Regions from separate parts of the Homo sapiens genome. Here regions 2 and 3 are each linked to region 1. The links are contacts of gene promoters, found by promoter capture Hi-C in blood cells and fetal thymus (Javierre and others, 2016). All regions are on one chromosome and are shown on one strand. Each heading gives the region's core, a stretch centred on a gene start or on the middle of the fragment in contact. The rest is flanking DNA. Distances are from core to core; before and after follow the strand shown. Region 1 holds the start of ZNF396 (zinc finger protein 396). Region 2 has its middle 40 kb from the start of ZNF397. Region 3 has its middle 16 kb from the start of ZNF397.

Evidence for each region. The method cuts DNA at HindIII sites, captures the fragments that hold promoters and counts their contacts. A CHiCAGO score of 5 or more calls a contact.
Region 2: a contact is called between a fragment that was not itself captured here and the fragment with the promoter of ZNF396 in region 1, in 1 of 17 cell types (total B cells). The highest score is 5.4, in total B cells.
Region 3: a contact is called between a fragment that was not itself captured here and the fragment with the promoter of ZNF396 in region 1, in 2 of 17 cell types (neutrophils and total B cells). The highest score is 6.1, in neutrophils.

The regions. Positions count from the first base shown.
Region 1 is chr18:35,375,246-35,379,673 of GRCh38, forward strand. It overlaps ZNF396 (zinc finger protein 396), which reads right to left and starts at 2,092. Exons shown (of 4, transcript NM_001322286.2): 1 at 2,033-2,092. RefSeq lists silencers at 1,608-1,797, 1,808-1,877. The HindIII fragment of the contact is 6,702 bases long and covers 1-3,450 here.
Region 2 is chr18:35,199,305-35,203,732 of GRCh38, forward strand. No RefSeq gene overlaps it. Among named protein-coding and RNA genes, the nearest start is that of ZNF397, 40 kb to the right of the region's middle. The HindIII fragment of the contact is 158 bases long and covers 2,322-2,479 here.
Region 3 is chr18:35,223,128-35,227,555 of GRCh38, forward strand. No RefSeq gene overlaps it. Among named protein-coding and RNA genes, the nearest start is that of ZNF397, 16 kb to the right of the region's middle. The HindIII fragment of the contact is 5,659 bases long and covers 1-4,428 here.

The sequences.
Region 1 (4,428 bases), core at 842-3,341:
ACCAGCCTGTGCAACATAATGGGACCCCATCTCTACCCCACCAAAAAAAAAAAAAAAAGAAAAAACAACAAAAAAGGCAATCACGTTCCTTCATCTGAATGTATTTCTATTTTTTTCCATATCCATATTACTTACTTAACTATTTTAAAATACTTAGGTTGTTTCTAATTTCACTATTATAATTAATGCTGGGAGGCACATCTTTATGAATATACTGTTTTTCTCCTTTCAAAGTATTTCTTTCAAGCATGTCCCAAGGCCTCTGCTTGTTGAGGATCAAAGGAGAAGAGCAAATTCTGTCTTGCTATGTATTATCAAAATATTGCACAAAGACTGTATCAATTCACAATACCATCACAATCATAGTGACTTGTGAGGGCAACGATTTCTTCAAGTATTATTAGCTCGTTAGCAACAAAGTTGGGGGGGGACGGCACTTTCCTTTGTATCATTTTACTGTTAAGTATCACCAGTAACTAATCTCATTTTGTTGTTGTTGTTGTTTTGTTTTGTTTGAGACAGAGTCTGGCCCTGTTGCCCAGGCTGGAGTACAATGGCGGGATCTTGGCTCACTGCAACCTCTGCCTTCTGGGTTCAAGCGATTCTCCTGCCTCAGCCTCCCAAGTAGCTGGGATTGCAGACGTGTACCACCACGCCCGGCTAATTTTTATAATTTTAGTAGAGACGGGGTTTCACCATGTTGGCCAGGCTGGTCTCGAACTCCTGACCTCAGGTGATCCCTCTGCCTCGGCCTCCCAAAATGCTGGGAGTACAGGCGTGAGGCTCTGCACCCGGTCTAATCATATTTTTTAAATTGGGCAGGAGGTATATGATAGTGTTTGTACAACTTCAGCAAATGATGACTACTTTAAAAATCTTACGTGCGCCTCCGTCTTCCATCGTTATGTATCCTGCCATTTGACTTATTTTCTCACTTCACCAAGTATTGTTCTAGGCCCTGTATAAAGCCTGTGAGTTCATAAAGTTGTTACCAAATAAATGATACAACTTTACACAATGATGTGCTATGAAACAAACAATAGCAGACACACATATTAACAGAATTTACTATGTGCCAAGCACTGTTTTGAACACCTTAGTAAAAATAAACAAAGGTTAAATCCTCATAAAAGCCCTAGATTATTTTTACCCCCATGTTGTAGACGGGGAAGCAGTCACAGCAAAGCCAGGTACTCTGGCCAAGGGCAAAGCTGGGGTCTGAACCCAGGCCGTCCACATTTATCCATGGTGCTGTGTGGTTAGAGGCCATAGGCAGCAGGGGCCCTTGTGGTGACCCCTGCGCGTTGTCTCAGCGCAGAGGAGGAAGTGGCGGCAGGCAGCCGCGCTCCCAGATGAAGCGGGGCCAGAAGAGTCTGGGGAACAAGACCTGAGAGGTGGGAAGGGTTGAGGCCACCGGTTTGGAGCCGTCAGGTACCCTAAGGGATATATGAGGGACCCCGGGGCTAAAGCAGCCTCTGGAAGAGAGTGGCCGCCCTGTCACTTCAGCACCAGGCGCAGAATCTGTGCTAAACCTGAGGTGAGGGTAAGGAACCCCCGACACCGCACGACAACCAGAAAGAACGTCCCTGGAGGGGAGGCTTCGATCAAAGCCTGGGACGCAGGGGTCTTTCTGCAGGGGACGCCGCTCTCGGCTCTACCCTGCTGTGGTGGGCCGGCTCTGGGAGGGCTGGCTTCCGACCATCTCCCGACCTCCCGCGCCCACCGCGCCGCGCCGCGCGCCTCCCAGGCTGGGAACCGCCGGGGCGAAGCGGCAGGTGGCGCGGGTTCACCTGGCAGGGCAGGCGCCCGGGGTCCGCCGGGGAAGGACGAGGGGAAGGGGTGCGCGGACTCAGGGGCAGGCAGCGGAGGGGAGGGGCCTGGGGATCTGGGACGGTGTAAGGGTGCTGCACTTGCGCGCGAAGGGAGGGGTGGCGACGAGTCCGCGGCCGCCTCTCCGCGTCCCCCTTCCACCACCCGGGGACCACCGCCTCTGACCGCAGCCTGGGGGCCCTAAAGAGGCCTCGGGTCTCACCTCCCGACGCCGTCGGGGAGAAACCGGGGAACTGCCAGCTGCGCAACAACTTCCGGTTCTGGTGGCGGGTCGGGGCGGGGCCCGGAACGCGGGGACGTTGCCATGGAGAAGAGCCGCTGTGGCCGCGCACTTGGGACAGGGAAAGAGAACCGGGAGGCTCGACCGGTGGGAATCCAGCTGCTCTGCTCAGTGTTCCGTTCAATAAACTAGCATTGTTGCTTCGCAAAGTGCTTTTGCTTACATTATTCATTTACTCCGGTAACTCAGTAAGGTTATTCCCATTTTACAGAAAATAAACTCAAATGTCCTGTGACTTGCCAAGGATTACAGAGAGGGGCGAATGCTGTGCTGTCTACCGCTGAGTACAATCCCTAATACCATTCCCACTCCCGAAGTGGTTACACCCCAAGTACTGACGTTTTAAGGGACAAGTTTGACATCCGCAACCCCATGCTTTCACAGGAGAACACAATGGCCCTTGAAAAAGTGAGAACTGACCCACATAAAATTTGTTACAATACATACACATATCTCTCCTCAGATAATCTTAATCTCAATTGAAAAATAAGTTTGAGGCCGGGCGCGGTGGCTCATGCCTGTAATCCCAGCACTTTGGGAGGTCGAGATGGGCAGATCACATGAGCCAAGGAGTTCGAGACCAGCCTGGCCAACATGGCTAAACCGCATCTCTACAAAACATACAGAAATTAGCCGAGTGTAGAGACGCATGCCTGTAGTCCCCGCTTCTTGGGAGGCTGAGGGGTGAGGATCACCTCAATCTGGGGAGGTGGAGACTGCAGTTAGCCATGATTGCGCCACTGCCCTCCAGCCTGGGCTGCAAAGTGAGAGCGTCTCAAAAAATAAATAAATAAATAAATTTAAGCCTAAATGCACCACAGCCCCACCTCGTGACTTCCTTCTCTAGCCCCTTTCCCTAGGGACTCCTGGAAAATGTACTTGTACTCGTAACTGAGGAATTAGGGAGAGGACGGAGATGCTTGAAAAGCACTTGCTAATTAATAAAGAACAATAACAAAAAATCCCTTTTGGTATGACGCCGCCCCAAAAGTATGTTAGTACTGGAATCTGAAGTGAAGAAAGAAGAGGCTGGTTTACTCAGTTTATGACGCTAGGGGACTAGGGAGAGGTTTGGATCCCAATTAGAGTACAGTAAAACTAAATCTGAAGAAATTCTTGCTTCAAACAAGGGGCTTTCACAGGATAAGACTTTTTGCTGATGCAGCTGCCAACACAAATAGCAAACAGCCCAAAAGTGCAGGTGGGAATGTGTTTCTGGCGCTGGTGGGTAGGGTAGGTTAAATGACTCACGTCAGGGGAGAATTTGAAACGAGGGCAAGGCTTGGCAGTGGTGTGAAGTCACAGGAGACAATTTAAGGAGAATATGAACGACAGTCAGAAGCTTCAAGGAGAAGGAGGAACTGTGGGATGTGGCAAGAGGTCAGGGATGATGAATTCATGGGTATGGTCCACCAAACAGCCAGATATCAGAGGCCAAAGTTAAAAACAGCAACAACAAAAAAGGGAGCAGACATAAAAGATTGATTAGAAAAGTTTCACAGTCAGGTAGTTAGAGCAAGAACAGGTTTTTGTTTGCTGTTTTAATTTTTTAAAAATTTTGGGGGTAAAGTGAAAAGAAATTAGCAGGAATAAGGTCCCAGTAGGGTGAGCACCTACTATATACCAGTTGTATCGTAAACACCGGGAATTCAATGGTAAAATATAGATTCTTGCCCTTTAGGGGCTAATAGACTAAGTAAAGAGAAAGATGAATAAATTGACTTTTCTAAACAATGTGGCAACATTCTGATGGAGACAACTGCAGGATACTATAAAAGCACAAAGAAAGGGAGGTCCTGGGTAGAGACTGGGATTGGAGTTGATGGAGAAAGCTGGTGTTGATACATTTGAGACTGAGGTACCAGTGTGGGATGTTGTTTAGATTTGCTGGATTAAAGGACAGCAGGATGAGTGGCTGAGGATGAGGCTGAAGAGGCAAACAGCAGCCTAGTTTTAAAGGGTTTGACAGGCCAAGTAAAGGGCTATGAACTAAGGTTTTAAGCAGAAACTTGAATTAGTGGCATGTGCACATCTGCAATTCAGGTAGGGCTCTCTGATAGCAACACGAAGGATAGATCTGAAGGGAGGCAAAACTCAAGACAGGGTTACCAGCTCTGAAGCTGTTGCAAAGATCCAGGCTGCAGCTGGTGAAGGTCTGAACTAGCACAGAGGGGACGAGAATGGAGGCAGATTCTGGAAACACTTGGGAGGCTGGTGCTTGCTTAGATGGAAGACTGACAGATGATTGGGTACATAATGTGTCATTCAGGGAAGTTAAACAACAGAGTATGTTTGACAATGGCTTATGTGGATATTTG
Region 2 (4,428 bases), core at 1,151-3,650, 180 kb before region 1:
GGTGAAACCCTGTCTCTACTAAAAATATAAAAATTCGTTGAGTGTGGTGGTGCACACCTGTAGTCCCAGCTACTAGGGAGGCTGAGGCACAAGAATGGCTTGAATCTGGGAGGCAGAGGTTGCAGTGAGCCAAGATCACATCACTGCACTCCAGCCTGGGCTACAGAGCAAGACCCTGTCTCAAAAACAAACAAACAAAAAACCACCTTGCTCTATGAATTAGAGATCACTTTTCATGCCTGCATTTTGTTTATTTTTTATTGTTTATTTTTTTTTGGAGATTTTATTATATGAACTCCAGTGTCCTTTTTTATTTTTAATTTCTATGATTCTACATAACCAATTCAAACTTAAATTTTAAAATGCATTACTTTTTGTTCAAGCTCCTGGAGACTTTTACTGATCCCCCTATTTTGTATACAAATGTTTGGGTGTTTGTTCTTCGCTTTTCATAGTTCATTTGAACTTGAGTTCCTCTTACGTGAAGAACATTATGGTGAAGAGAACAAAGACGAAATGAATGGCTTCTCTCTCAAAATACTTATAATGAGGCTCACATTAAAAATGAGGCTCACAACCTGACACTTAGCTTTTCTACTCCTAGGCAAACAGGGGGCAATGTACATCTAGTGCTAATTAAATTAAATACCCAAATACTGGGTTTTCAACAAACACAAACAAATTCAGAAGAGTGAACTATACTACTTTACTTGGAATATCAATGACAGCCTAAGTAACAGAAGAATAAACCTGGATAACAGTGGATGGTAACTACATAGTATAACTATTGGCCAATTTGGAGAATTTGGAACATAATCAATGAAACAATATCAATATTTACCATCCTAATTTTAAGTGACCTCCAAAAAACAACATGATGTTACATAATCCCTTTTTACTCTTTATAAATTATGAGAAATTCTTAAATTATGTTTTCTGTAAATTGTTAGCAGAAACATGATTTTCCCTGAGTCTTGCTGCTTGGTATAGATCATAACCCTAAGGAAAAAAGGAGCCTCCAGTGTTGTCCTTCTCTGGTGGGAAGTTAAATAAGACAGTGCTCAGGAAGGGAACATCGTATGCACAGACATTTGTTCTCTCAACACAGAACTAGACTGAGATCTCCTCACATGCTTCTATCTATGGAATCTAGAATGAAAAAGAATTTTAAAAAGAAGTCGAACTCGAGAATGTTTAAAAGAATTCTACTTCGTGGATTTTTACAGTCAATACAAAATAGTCTTATGGTTCTTTCAGCATATATACTTAAATTCAGCCTATTAAAATAGTATAATATGAATTAAACTTATTAACCAAAATTAAGAGTACATGGTGCTAAAACGATTGGTTGATTCAGTGGCAGTATTTATAAGTACACTATAAACAATTCCCCAACTGGCAATCATCTTTAGAAACTTTAAATTTTTGATGTGGCTCAAGTCTGACTCTAAGCTTTTGGGTTTTCCATCTTAAAAAGCTCCCCTCCCTTACTCCCACATTGCCGCCCACTACATTATAGAAACATTCTCATATAGCTTTATTTGTTACATTTATATCTTTATTGCATCCCACTCGTCTGTATTTGAACAAGCATTGCAAAAAGATACACAGCAGACTGTTAACTTTGGTTATCTAGACTTTGCCTTTATACTGTATAACTGGATCTGTTATAATATATATATGTATTGCTTAATAAAGAAAGAAAACAGGCTGGGTGCAGTGGCTCACGCCTGTAATCCCAGCAATTCGGGAGGCCGAAGCTAGAAGATCGCTTGAGCTCAGGAGTTCTAGACCAGCCTGGACAACATGGCGAAACCTCATCTCTACAAAAAATACAAAAAATAGCCGGGCATGGTGGTGTACACCTGTAGTCCCAGCTACTATGGAGGCTGAGGTGGGAGGTTCACTTGAGCTCAAGAGGTGGAGATTGCAGTGAGCCATGATTGTGCCACTGCACTCTAGCCTGGGCAACAAAGAGAGACCCTGTCTCAAAAAAAAAAAAAAGCAAGTAAGAAAAGAAATGAGAAGAAAAGAAAGAAAAAACAAAACCAAAAAACAATACTGTCTAGCTCTAAAAAACTATAAATGTAAACATTACCATGTTCACCGCCAAAATGAGAAAAAGAATAACATAAAACAATTCACTGGGGAATATTCAAATGTAAAAGCCAAATATTAATCCAGATTCTAAATAACCAGTCCTTGTAAACTATAGAATAGTAACTTTTTTCTTTTCCCTCAAATGATTTAACCAAATGGAACAATAAATAAACCCATATTCCATGCCAGATAAAATTAAACTGTGGTTCACCTAAAGATCAAGCTTAGGCTAATTAGTAAAAGGGGCCAGACCAGACGGTGATAACCAGCCCGACGGAAAGAGAAGCACATGATTAAGCAAACAGATGGCCACTTGCAATTTAATGAGCAGACACTTTGATTTGGTTTGATGGCCCAACTAGGGAAGGCCTTTAGCTTAAGCTTTTCCCTTGAGAGCGCTGTATGGCTGGACTCCAGTGATTTGTTCAGGTTTGAGCCCTTTTCCTCCCAGAAATGGCTTCCACAATTCATAAAAAGCTTACTGTTTATATCAAACAAGCACAGACCAGGGCTCCACACTCCTTTAGATGGCATGCTAACTTACTCTTCACTTCTGGCCTCCGGAAAAAGCCCAGTGGAAGGAAAAAAAAAATGCTTTTTCATCTTCCAGTGATCTTGTTTAAAAAAAAAAAGATTCCACAAAACTATATCTTACTTAAATCATTTCAAGACCCACCTTAAGTCAGTGTTAGCAAAAATTTGTTGACAGCCATATGAAGGTAGAATCAGGCCACGGGATAAGGCCCAAGGATAGAAGTGGATGAATTCAGGAGAGAGAAACAAGGTACAGATTTAAGAAGGGGCCAGAAACATGCCTTCATGTATTTCTTAATTTTGTTTAAAATGAGCACATCCTGTACCATTTATGATCAGCTCCAAAAGGTCTTCCCTGGAGCGAACTGTCCATACAAATAAAAAAATGCCTGTTTATTAAATTGCAAGTGGCTATCATATATAATAGAAATTCCAAACAAAGTCATAGATATTTCTGACAAGGTATAAGCAGAATATATACACCTTTTTAAGTATACTTTTTAATATACTTTTTAAGTATATTCTCTTTCATGTAAACATTTATAAAAACCAGGTGAAGAAACAAATGTGTAGAAAAGGAATTATGGCTCAGTCCAGCTATGAATTTTTCAAGGGGTTGCAGCTCAAAAAGTATTTAAATAAATAAAAACTGGTGGTTTTTAAAGTTAGTCTGAAGTTACTGCCATAGTCTCTTGGGTTTTGTTTTTGTTTTTGTTTTCTAGATTTATATATATACAAAGCTAGGGAATGTAAAGAATATAATACATATTATAATATATAATATAATATATAATAAAATATATATTGTATTCTTTTTCTAGCTTTATATATGTACATGTGTTACATATTTATATATGAACATATATAAAGCTAGAAAAGGAATATATATTTAACTGTATATATAAAATAAATATATGAAATAATATAATACATACATAATATATATTTAATCATACACATATATATATTTCTCTGTATTAATTCCCCTTAAAAACCAAAATTTTCCAAATTATTTCTCCCAGAGTCAATATCCTTTTCATTCACAGCAAGTTCTAAGTTGAAGACTTACAAATTAACACTCAAACATTTTTTTCCCAAATAACTTCACAAACATGTTAAACAGGAAAAGGAAGTTAGAGTTAGGAATTGTGAGGCTATAAGAATTTTTCTTTCCTAAAGGATTGGATATGACTGCCAACAATTCCGTGGTTTTAGCTGCTTTCAAAAAAAGGAATGTGATAATAGCTCCTGGGTGGAATAATTTTGGCTGCACTTGATTAAATCTAAGCTTAAAACTTACAGAGAACAGCTTGGACTGCATTTCTTTTTTTTTTTTTTTAAGAAACAGCATTGCATTTCATTTTACTGTGTCTTTGCCAGATTTGGGCCTTTGGGGAGTCTGGCACTAGATTAGACACTAACAAAGCGAGCTGTAATACCCTGGGTAATATGAGTTACATAACTCCAATCAACACTAATGAGTGTGTGTCTCTCTAAAACCCTGCACGTGTAATTTTGGAAAGGAGTCCTAAATGATTTTAAGGCCCCTTCCTTTCACAAAGCGCTATCTTATTCAGCTCCCAGAAAGTAATCATTCCAAAAAGCACTAGGCATACCCAGCTGGTATTTTTGTTTGTATTCTATTGTCTTTTTCTTTTGGTAAATAAATCATCTTCATTCCCTAGAAAAGCATCTACATTTTGCATCCAATATCTTAAACTTTGTTCTTGACATTTTTCTGGTGACTTCAAGACACATGATTTTAACACCACCAGTGAGAATTTTCGAATACTT
Region 3 (4,428 bases), core at 909-3,408, 150 kb before region 1:
CTGTTTACTTAGATCCCAGTTGTCACTTTTTGCTTTTGTTGCAATTGCTTTTGGCGTCTTCATCATGAAATCTTTGCCTGTGCCTATGTCTTGAATGGTATCGTCTAGGTTGTCTTCCAGGATTTTTATAGTTTTGGGTTTTACATTTAAGGTATTTCAAGTTAATTTTTGTATATGGTGTAAGGAAGTGGTCCAGTTTCAATCTTCTGCATATGGCTAGCCAATTCTTCTGCATCACTTATTGAATAAGGAATCCTTTCCCCATTGCTTGCTTTTGTCAGATTTGTCAGAGATCAGATAGTTGCAGGTATGTGGTCTTATTTCTGGGATCTCTATTCTGTTCCATTGGTCTATGTGTCTGTTTTTGTACCAGTACCATGCTGGTTTTGGTTACTATAGCCTTATGATATAGATTCAAGTTGAATAGTGTGATGCCTCCAGGTTTTTTCTTTTTGCTTAGGATTGCCTTGGCTATCCAGGCTCTGTTTTTGTTCCATATGAATTGTAAAATAGTTTTCTCTAGATCTGGGAAGAATGTCAATAGTGGTTTAATAGTAATAGCATTGAATCTATAAATTGCTTTGGGCAATATGACTGTTTTAATAAAATTGATTCTACCTATCCATGATCATGGGATGATTTTCCATTTGTTTGCGTCTTCTGTGTTTTCTTTGAGCAGTGTTTTGTAGTTCTCCTTGTAGAGATCTTTCACCTCCCTAGTTAGCCGTGTTACTATGTATTTTATTTCTTTTGTGGCAATTGTGAATGGGAGTTCATTCCTGATTTGGTCCTTGGCTTAACTATTGTTGGTGTATGGGGATGCTAGTGACTTTTGCACATTAATTTTGTATCCTGAGACTTTTTGCTGACATTGTTATTATTAAAAAAAATCAAAAGATAACGGATGCTGGTGAGGCTGTGGAGAAAGGGGATAGCTTATACACTGTTGGCGGGAGTGTAAATTAGTTCAGCCATTGTGGAAGACAGTGTGGTGATTCCTCAAAGACATAAAGACAAAAATACCATTCAATCAGCAATCCCATTACTGGGATCCCATTATACCCAAAGGAATATAAATCATTCTACCATAAAGACACATGCATGTGTATGTTTTTGCAGCACTATTCACAATAGCAAAGACATGAAACCAAGTCAAATGCCCATCAATGACAGATTGGATAAAGAAAATGTGGTACATATATACCATGGAATACTATGCATCCACAAAAGAGAACAAAATCATGTCCTTTGCTGGGACATGGATGGAGCTGGAGGCCATTATCCTTAGCAAACTAACACAGGAACAAAAAAACCAAATACCACATGTTCTCAGTTATAAGTGGAAGCTAAATGATGAGAACACATGGACACATAGTGGAGAACAACACAAACAGGGGCCTTTTGGAGGGTGAAGGGTAGGAGAAGGGAGAAGATCTTAAAAAATAACTAATGAGTACTAGGCTTAATATCTGGGTGATAATCTGTATGACAAACCTCCATGACACAAGTTTACCTTTGTAACAAATCACTTGTACCCCTGAACTTAAAAGTCAAAATAATAAAATAAATAAAAAAGAAAAAAAAATAAAAGAAAAACCGTTCTGTGAGTACTAAGTGATTACTCTTATATTTCTGTTTTTCCTGTGTTGTAGAGCTGGGCAAGATCAATCCTTCTTTCAATCTTTGATTATTTGCATGATCTAGTGCATGTCCAAATTATACAACTATTATCCAGAGCCTACATGACTAATAAAATGTTTTCAGCATTTCTCCATCACATCTTAGAAAACATTGTCCTTCAGGATAAACACAAAAGGACTAGACACTGAGTATGCCAAGGTGCAGGCACAAGCAGGCTTATCATCTGACTTTATTCACACCTTACCTTAATGATCAAAATATGCCTTCCAAAGCACAGGATGCTTACAACCCCTTGTTATTCATCAAACAAAAATAAATGAAAACCATATTAATGTTTAATAGCTCAAAAGACAATTAGGAAAAGTGGCACATGTATAGCCAGACAAATCCAGAGGAAAAGAATAAAACATGAAGCCAAGAAATAAGTCAAGCGCATATGGGGAGTTAGTATATGAAAAGGTTGTCATCTGAAATTAATGGGGGGAACGATGAACTATTTAATAAATGGCATTGTAATAATTAGATAGCCACCTAGAAAAATATATATGTTACACCCACATTCTACATCAGGACAAATTCTAAATGGATCAAATATTTAGATGTGAAAATATAACAATAAAATTCTAGAAGAAAATATAATTTTTTTTATAATCTTGAAGTAAGAAAGACTTTTCTAACCATGACACAAAATGAAGAACCCATAGAAGAAACAAATAATAAAATTCACTATGTGAAAATCAAGAAGTTCTGCATGGTAAAAACAAAAACAAATCCAAAAACTGAAAAAAAAAAAGAGGAAAAAATACTCATATAACACAATAACAGGTCAATAATCTTCTTTTGAAATGCATATGGTTATTTCTTATAACGTTGCTTATAACAGTGAAACATTGGAAACAACCTAAATTTTCATCACTAGGAGGCTGATTGAATAAATTATGGTTTAATAAATTATATGTTATAGAATATTAGGCAATTGTAAAAAAACTGAGAAAGCTCTTTAAGTAAATAATATGGAAAGATCTTTAGGTATATTATTAGCTTTCTAAAAAGCAAAGTGAAAACCGGGTGTATAGTATGCTACCTTTTGAGTAAAAGGGGTAGAATAAGGAAACGTATTTTTTCATTGCTTCTGCAGACATAAAGAAACTCTGGAATGACTTATAATAAACCAATTATGCTGGCTATCCAGAGGGTAGGCAGGTAAGTGGGAAATGAATAGGTAATTACAATTTTTCATCTTATACCTTTTGCAATTTTTTGAACCATTAAAAAATTTATCTGTTCAAAAATTGGATTACAACAACATTTAAGCAGATGAGAAAATGTTATTTTATTCATTTTAACCTCCACTAAAAAATATCCCAAGAGATTCTTTTTTAGACTGAAAATATTCTGGAAAACACCTTCTAATCGGAGACCAGGAGACTTAAGATACTACAAAAAGCCCCTGGATTAAAATGCTGAAAGATGACTTCCCATTCAGCTGTCTAAGAAATTAGTTAAAATTTACTTTAAAATACGAACAATGGGCTTGGCGCAGTGGCTCATGCCATAATCCCAGCACTTTGGGAAGTTGAGGTGGAAAGATTGCTTGAGCTCCGGAGTTCAAGACCAGTCTGGGCAACATGTCAAGTCTCCGACTCTACAAAAAATACAAAAATTAGCCAGGTGTGGGGGCACATACCTTCAATCCCAGATACTTGGGAGGCTGAAGCAGGAGAATCCTTGAGCCCAGAAGGCGAAAGCTGCAGTGAGCCATGATTGTGCCACTACACTCTGGGTGACAGAGCCAGGCCTTGTCTAAAAAACTAATAATGGTAAAGTAAAATAAAATAAAACATGAACATCGTATAATTTTTTGCAAATCTTAAAGGTATTAACAATTGAACCATATAAAATTCTGAGACCTAGCAATGCCATACTATATTAAAGGAACATAAAACATAAGAAAAAGATAACAATGAAGGTAAGCAATTGTAGGAGAGGAGAAAAAGGCTTTGCAGTAGACAGGTGAATAGTAGAAAAATATCAAAGATCTGCAGTTCATTACAGGAGTAACTAAAGTTTGAGAAAAATATTCCAGCAGGTCATTATATGTGTGTACTCTGTGTGTGTGTGCTTGTTTATTTGTTTATTTATTTATTTATTTATTTTATTCATTCCAAACTGGCAACTTTTCCTTTCATTTTAAATACACAATTTAAAAGCAGGAGGGAACTGTATTCCCAAAACTTATAGACCTACAGAAATAAAAATTGACTTAGAGGCCAGGAGCCCTGGCTCATGCCTGTAATCCCAGTGTTACTGGTGGAGGGTGTCCAGATTCTTGGCGTCTTGAACAAAGAATTGGACAAAATGCACAAACAAAGCAAGGAAAGAATGAATCGACAAAAGCAGAGATTTATTGAAAACAAAAGTACACTCCACAGGGCAGGAATGGGCCTGAGCATAGGGGCTTAAGAGCCCCAGTTAAATAATTTTCTGGGGCTTAAATACCCTGTAGAAATTTCCTGTTGGTGACTTGATGTACACCCTATGTAAATGAACCAGTCCTAGTGGTTGCAGAAAGCAGCCAATCAAAGGCTGAAGTGAAGTTACAGAGTTACATCCTATGCAAACGTCTGATTGGTTTTGGAAAGCAACCAATCAGAGGCTTAAGTGAAGTTACAAAGTTATACTCCTATGCAAATGAAGACTTGGCCCACTACCAGCCTGATTGGTTGCATGAGGGGACCAATCAGAGGTACTTTCAATTTTTCATCTGCCAGGCAGAAAAGCAGGGGC